Linked DNA regions of Homo sapiens: region 2 is linked to region 1. Evidence: promoter capture Hi-C in human tissues and cell types (Jung and others, 2019). All regions are on one chromosome and are shown on one strand. The core of a region is centred on a gene start or on the middle of the fragment in contact, and the rest is flanking DNA. Distances in the headings are between cores, read along the strand shown. Region 1 holds the start of MEIS2 (Meis homeobox 2). Region 2 overlaps CDIN1 (CDAN1 interacting nuclease 1).

Evidence for each region. Contacts are between HindIII fragments. The study calls those that stand out against the background at their distance.
Region 2: a fragment that was not itself captured here is called in contact with the fragment with the promoter of MEIS2 in region 1 in 1 of the 25 tissues and cell types used here (heart left ventricle).

What each region holds. Positions count from the first base shown.
Region 1 is chr15:37,099,079-37,102,199 of GRCh38, forward strand. It overlaps MEIS2 (Meis homeobox 2), which reads right to left and starts at 1,471. Exons shown (of 12, transcript NM_170675.5): 1 at 377-1,471. The coding sequence starts at 388. It overlaps LOC124903465 (a long non-coding RNA gene), which reads left to right and starts at 170. Exons shown (of 2, transcript XR_007064581.1): 1 at 170-351; 2 at 723-3,121. RefSeq lists silencers at 1-42, 193-252, 2,702-2,841 and enhancers at 1,312-1,471, 1,722-2,001. The HindIII fragment of the contact is 11,980 bases long and covers 1-3,121 here.
Region 2 is chr15:36,675,382-36,678,502 of GRCh38, forward strand. The region is part of intron 5 of CDIN1 (CDAN1 interacting nuclease 1); the gene reads left to right. It overlaps LOC124903466 (a long non-coding RNA gene), which reads right to left. Exons shown (of 3, transcript XR_007064582.1): 1 at 1-3,121. Among named protein-coding and RNA genes, the nearest start is that of CDIN1, 97 kb to the left of the region's middle. The HindIII fragment of the contact is 3,601 bases long and covers 1-3,121 here.

The sequences.
Region 1 (3,121 bases), core at 221-2,720:
GGCAGCGGCGCAGCAGCGGCAGCAGGAGAACCGGGGGAATCGCGCTGCTGGGGTAAAAGCTGGAGCGAGGCGAAAGCGTGTAACGATTGCACACGCACACACACACACCACTCACACGCACTCGCCGCCCGCCCGCTCGCACAGCGCTGGAACACGCGCGCCCAGACACGCACACACGCACGCACACACACTCGCACACACGCAGAGGCACGGGAGGGAAAGAAGCCGATGAATAATTTTGCTATTTTTTAAAATACTGGCCGCCATCATCAAGCAGCGAGCAGCAGCAGAAGCGTTGAAGGGAGAGGAGGCATCGGGACAGGCCCCTCTTAGGAGAGGATTTATATCTAGGTAAGTGTTGGAGATTTAAACCTACCCTTTGCGCCATCAGTCTGCGCTCCAATAAACTCCTGGATGTGTCGTATATTTAATATCCCAGTCCGGATAAGAAAGTGATCTAGGCTGAAGATTCCTTTTTTTTTTTTCCAAACCAAAGAGACTTCTCCCAATTCTCCAATATGCTATTTTTTAGGGGGGAAAAAAAGCCCAGTCTAGACAACGAAGAATTTTTTTTTCTGTGATATTTCTTCTTTTTCTCTTTTTTCCTCTTCTTCCTCCTCCTCCTGATCTTCCTCCTCCTCCTCCACCTCCTCCTCCTCCCCCCTCCCCTCCTCCTCCTCTTCGGTCCTCCTTTCCCCCTCTTTCTCTTCTCTTCCCCTCAGTTGGAAAAAAAAAGAAAGAAAAGAAAAAGAAGAAAAAGAAGAAAAAAATTGTCAAGCCCCCGAACTGAAGGTTACGAGCGGCCCGTCAGCAGCCCACATGTAACCGAACTGTCGTGTTTCATGGCTTTTTGCCACTCCAGCTGTCAATCAAAGCCCGGAATGTCAAGGTAGTGAATGAATGATGGTTGATGATGATGAAGAGGAGGAATCTTTCAGACCCGTTTTTTTCTTCCAGTAAAACTCCGCGAGGGGTTTCTGCTTCTTGAATTTTTTCCTCCCCCCTCCCCCCTTTTTTAGCTTTGCCCCCGCGGTATCTATAATACGATCCTCTCTCTTTAAAGTATTGTTCAAAGAAAGCAGTGAGAAAAATCAAGAAAAAAAAATGAATAGTTTGCAAAAATTGGACTTCCTCCCCCCCTTTCCTGGTAGGTATTTTGTCTCTCCCTCTCTCTCTTTCTCGCTCGCTCGCTCGCTCTCACTCGCGCTCGCTCTCTCGCGCTCGCTCTCTCTCGCTCTCTTTCTCTCTCTGGGAGATGAGTGAGTGTCAGTAGGTGTTGGCAGGTTGGCTGCTGCCTGGCTTATTGAAGAGCCTCAGTTTGGCGGCGCGGGTCGGCGGCGGGAGAACGAAATGACGGAACCCGGAAGTCGTGGTGGCCATAGCCCGTCGTACGGCGGAGACACATCCCGGGAGTGGGGAGCGGGAGCGAGGAGGAGCGCGCCGCGCCGAGCCTCTGATATGCAACGAGTGCGATCGGACAGCCCCGGCTGGGGGGGTGGGGGAGGCGGGGGGGCGGGAGGGGGAGGGGAGGCTCGAGCCGGGCGGACCCGAGCAAATCAGCAAGCCTGCTCCTCCACGGGGATGGGGGACGGCGGGGGGGAGGAAAAGGAGAGTGTGTCTGTGTGTGTGAGTGTGTGTGTATGTGTGTGCGTGCGCGCGTGTGTGTTGCGCGCGCGCGCGCGCGAACAGGGAGAGAGGGAGAGGGGGAGAGAGAAGAGGACAGGGAGAGCGCAGAGAGGAAAACTGCAGAAAACCACAGGGAAAGTACGGTACCGCCTCAGATCTTTTCATTTAAAAAAAAAAAAAAACTTACTTCTAGTTCATTTTCCCATCACTCCCGGCTCCTGCCTAACTGGGTCTTGCCGGGGACGTTTGGCATGGCGCTCTAGCTTTTGTTCCTTTTAATTCCGCGGCCTCCCTCTCCTCTGCCCGCCGATTACAGCACCCCGAAGGCTTCCTGCTAACGTCCAAGGGCAGCAAGCTCTGCAGACGGTACCACTGCCGGGCTAAATTTTTTATTAAGTGGCACTTTCTTTTCTGCGCAGATCCAGCAACCTTGTCAATACTCATTTTTTTCCAGGACCAGAAGAGACCAGCTTAACTCAGAGCACACTCCCTCCAAGCGGTGCGGACAAGGGGCCACCCCGAGAGTCTTTGGGGGCCGCGGCGGAATCGGGAGGGAGGAAGTGAGGAGGCAGTCATCTGGGTCCGATGTAGCCAAAGGCGTGTGTGTGTGTGTGTGTGTGTGTGTGTGTGTGTGTGTGTGCGCGCGCGCGCCCGCGCGCCCGTGCGCGCGCGCGACTAGTGTGCGTCTCCAAAGTGGATCTCACTCAGAGCTGGGAAGCACAGGAGGAAAAGACGGAGAGAGTGGGGGAGAAAGAAGTTGCCGGGCGAGGAGGAGTGGCCGGCGCTCACAGCCCAGCTTTGTTGTGGTCGCCCGAGGCGCAGCGGCGGGCCGCGGTAACGCCTGCTAATGGCTGTGTTAATTACACAGGGGCGATTTCGCGGGGTCAGGGAGATGGGGCCAGCTCCGAAAGAACTTTTCCAAAAAGGAAAAGGAAACGAAGGGAACTACCCCACACCGTTTGGGTGGAAACTAGTTGTGGCCGGTGCCCTGTCCTCCCTGGCCCGAGCTGCACCAGGCTTCACCTCTGCGCGGCTGGTTTCCCGGCGGCCGCGCGTCAATCACTACGAGCCCGGAGTTGGGGGCGGAGCCACGGTCACCCCGCGCAAGCCTTGCCGCCCAGCAGCCCCCATGCCCCTCGGCCCCTTGTGGCGCGGCCGGGCGGACAGGCGCTGGAAGCGCGTCCTCTCCCCAACTTCTCGCTCTCGCCCTCCCAGTCCCTGGCCCAGAGAGTGGAAAGCGGACTGTTGTTCTCCAACAGCCGCATCCCTCCCCAACTTTGAACCCATTCTGAGAAGTGGAGAGTAGTGTCTTCCGCGAGCCGCGTCTAACCGACTTTCCCGCGGAGGGAGGGTGGGATGGGGGAGGTTGATTAGAGAGAATAAAGTACTCTGTGTGTGTGTTGTGTGTGAGAGAGAGAGAGAGAGAGCGAGAGAGAGCGGGGAGGAGGGCGGGTGGGAGGGCTCTTTTTTTTGGCCCCCGTTCCATGTTCCCTGC
Region 2 (3,121 bases), core at 309-2,808, 420 kb before region 1:
TGTTTTCTATGGAGTAGTTTCTAGCACTCCTCTGTCATTTGGGGTGTCCAAAGGTGATGCTTACAGAACAAGTGTTGCTTCAGAGACTAATTGCCCTTCTCCCTTAACACACTTTGTTTCCAGAGCCCCAAGAGTTTGCAGCATGTCTTTTTGTAAACTCTATCTCTCACTTTGGCACAGCATTGTGCTGCCATTGTGCTCAGCGGCCTTGCTGAAAGATTAATTACAACTGAAGAAATGTATCTTTTAACTGTCTCATTACATAAAGAATTCATAGTGAAGTTAACATCCGCATCATTTAATGATATACGGATTTTAATTATATAGTACACTGTTAATTGTACAACTATTTTTAGATCAGGCTACTAACTTGTTCATTTAAATGAATAGCTCATTTGCTTGAGGGACCAAAATGTAAGCTTTCTTGAAAACTCAAGAGAATCTTGAAACCGCTGCAAAAATATGTTAACCTGGTAGGATATTTTTATGGTATTTGTCTCTCCTTAAAATGAAGCTGACCTGTACCTCGCCTTCGTTGCATAGGTTGTTTGACACATAGAATTTTGACTTTTTTTTTGGTACCTAATAAAGTGCAAGAAAGATAGATCTCTGTGTTGGATAATGGGCAGAAATTGAATAGCGGTGTTTTCCTTGAAAGTTGTTGAGATTTTTCTCAGGAGAATTAGACGAAAGTTATTTCTGAATAGAAGCACTGTCCCTGGCTGTAATTAGTCACATGGGTTTAGTTCCCAGGAAATGTTTCTTTCAGCATACTAAAAGTGTTTGAATTTTCATATCGTTTAACATGCCTTGAAATTTCGCCTCTGCTCACCTACCTATCCCTCTCCTACAATTTAAGATATAAAGTTTAGGTTGTTCTTTCCCGTTAGATTCGGGAGCCTGCCGAAAAAGAACACACTTTTGTGCCCCCTTTCCTTGAATACTTCCAATCCTGGGCAACATTTTTAATGACTTAGAATTAACTGCTTTCTAATTATGCACTGAGGCAGACACCATGATGTTGTATGGGCCTTTGCCAGCAATTGGAAACACAAGAGACATAAATGAGCAGGCTACCAGAGGGAATTATTAGAGAGGCTTCTTGAAGTCATCAACTTGCAAAGCAGAGACTTGCCCTTGTCTCATTGAATAATACAGACTTGGTCATACCAGTAGCCACTGTGGTATCACCTTTAGAAGCATCCAGTTTTCTTTCTTTTCATAGACTATAAGACATTTGATCTCATCAGGCTTTCTGGATACCCCAGTAAATTTCGGTAGGTCTTTGCTGCCATGAACTTTCTCCTCTGATCTTGAATGGGAGTTTTCGCTTTACCTGTATCTCACCTCTCATGTTGGGCCCCAGTGAGCCCAGAAGAGGGCTTCCCTTCATTATGTGGCCCTATATTTGCTCTGCATGGAGCACTAGCTTGAAACTTTAATTGCTAATATATGAATTGGAGGAAAATCCAGGAGGGAGGAGGTAATACCATGGAATCTCTTACCGTAAGTTTAAACTATTTATAAAAGTACTATATAACTGTTAACAACAACAACAAAAATGTGTGCTAGTAAGGTCACTTCACATACCTATACCAGTGATAAGCAGTCCTCTTTGGGAGATGAGTCATTAGATGTTTTCACGGTTTACCTCAAGATCCATTGTATCCTATGAGAAAGAGTAGTCTTCTCTTTCCTTTGGCAGTGTGTTCATAAATGTATTTATTCAGCAGTTTGTTGAGTAGCTATTTTGTGCAAAGTGGCTTTGGAGTGGTAACAAATAAGCTTTCTGCTTTTAAGCAGCTTGCCAAATACCCTGACAAAAACAATTCCTTAATCCTCCATGTGAACCATGCATTCTCAAAGGGGGTGAGATTGTGTAAACAGATATGCAGCATATCTGTGGCATTAAAATTTCATGGGGGGAGCAAGTAAGAAAAAATAAGAAGTCTTCTGAGGTGGGTCCTAATGAATAAAAGAAAAGGTTAAGAATCATCTGTTTAGACTAAATAAGGGCCACATAAATCCAAGCTTGAAATCTGAAACCTTGTAGCCTCACCACCAATAATAAACTTGTGAGATTTCTTTCTTGTCTTCTTAGGGGTGACCACATGATGAGCCTCAATCTACTTCCATGTGAAAACCCCCAGATACTTAAAGACAATATTAAGAAAATATTGACACCTTTTTAATGTGGCATGATTTAACATTTCAGCATCCTGATCAATCTCTTGTCATCAGTTGACAAAGTGACATTTAATCAAGTGCCCAATGATTGATACACAATATGAGTTCTCTCCATTCCACAATATGAGGGAGAGGAAGGCAAGTGGATTGGAAAAAAATAAGAGAAGGCTTTAATGGAGGAGGTAAACATTGAACCAGGCCTCAAAGTTTTAGCCAAAGGAAAGTCAGGAAAAAAAATTCCAGATTTGGAAGTTGTGTGTGTGAGTGTGGAGAAGAATTCAGTATATTCATAGCATTAACCAGGTGCTTTCTCAATGTTTGTTGAATGTGTGCTTGTTGGATAAGGATTGGTGGCATATAGCGGCTATAAGGCTGCAAGTTGCCTGAGACAAGGTTCCGATCAGTCTGAACACTCATGCTTTGGAGATATCTTCCTCTTGTCCTTACATAATACTTTTATATTTGATAGCTCTAGTCTAAGTTATTTCTTACATGATTATGTGCTAGTTGGAGAGAATAATTTAATTTGTCCCTATAGGATTCCCTAATGTTAAAAGATATTTCTTATTCAGATTGTCAAATGAGATCAAACTGCTTTAGATTTCACTTTTATGCAGTGGGAGAGCCAGTGGGCTAGTGCTTAGAATTCTTGAGGAGTAGTTCCAACTGCAAGGGCAAGTAGGCTCCTGCAGGCCACTGGCAATATGGAAATTGTTCAGGAAAGACACTGGCAGGTCAACCCCTGTGGAGATGTAGCTTGGGACTTTAGTGACCATGATATCCAAAGGCGTTAAACCATCATTGGAAGAAAAGATGAAATACTAATTGGTATTTAGGCTTTGCTGTCTTGGAGTTCAGCCCCTGGGGCAGCCACATGAAGAGGCAAAGCTCCTGGTGTACCTTGGGAGTATTGCCAGCAGCAGTTTCCATATCC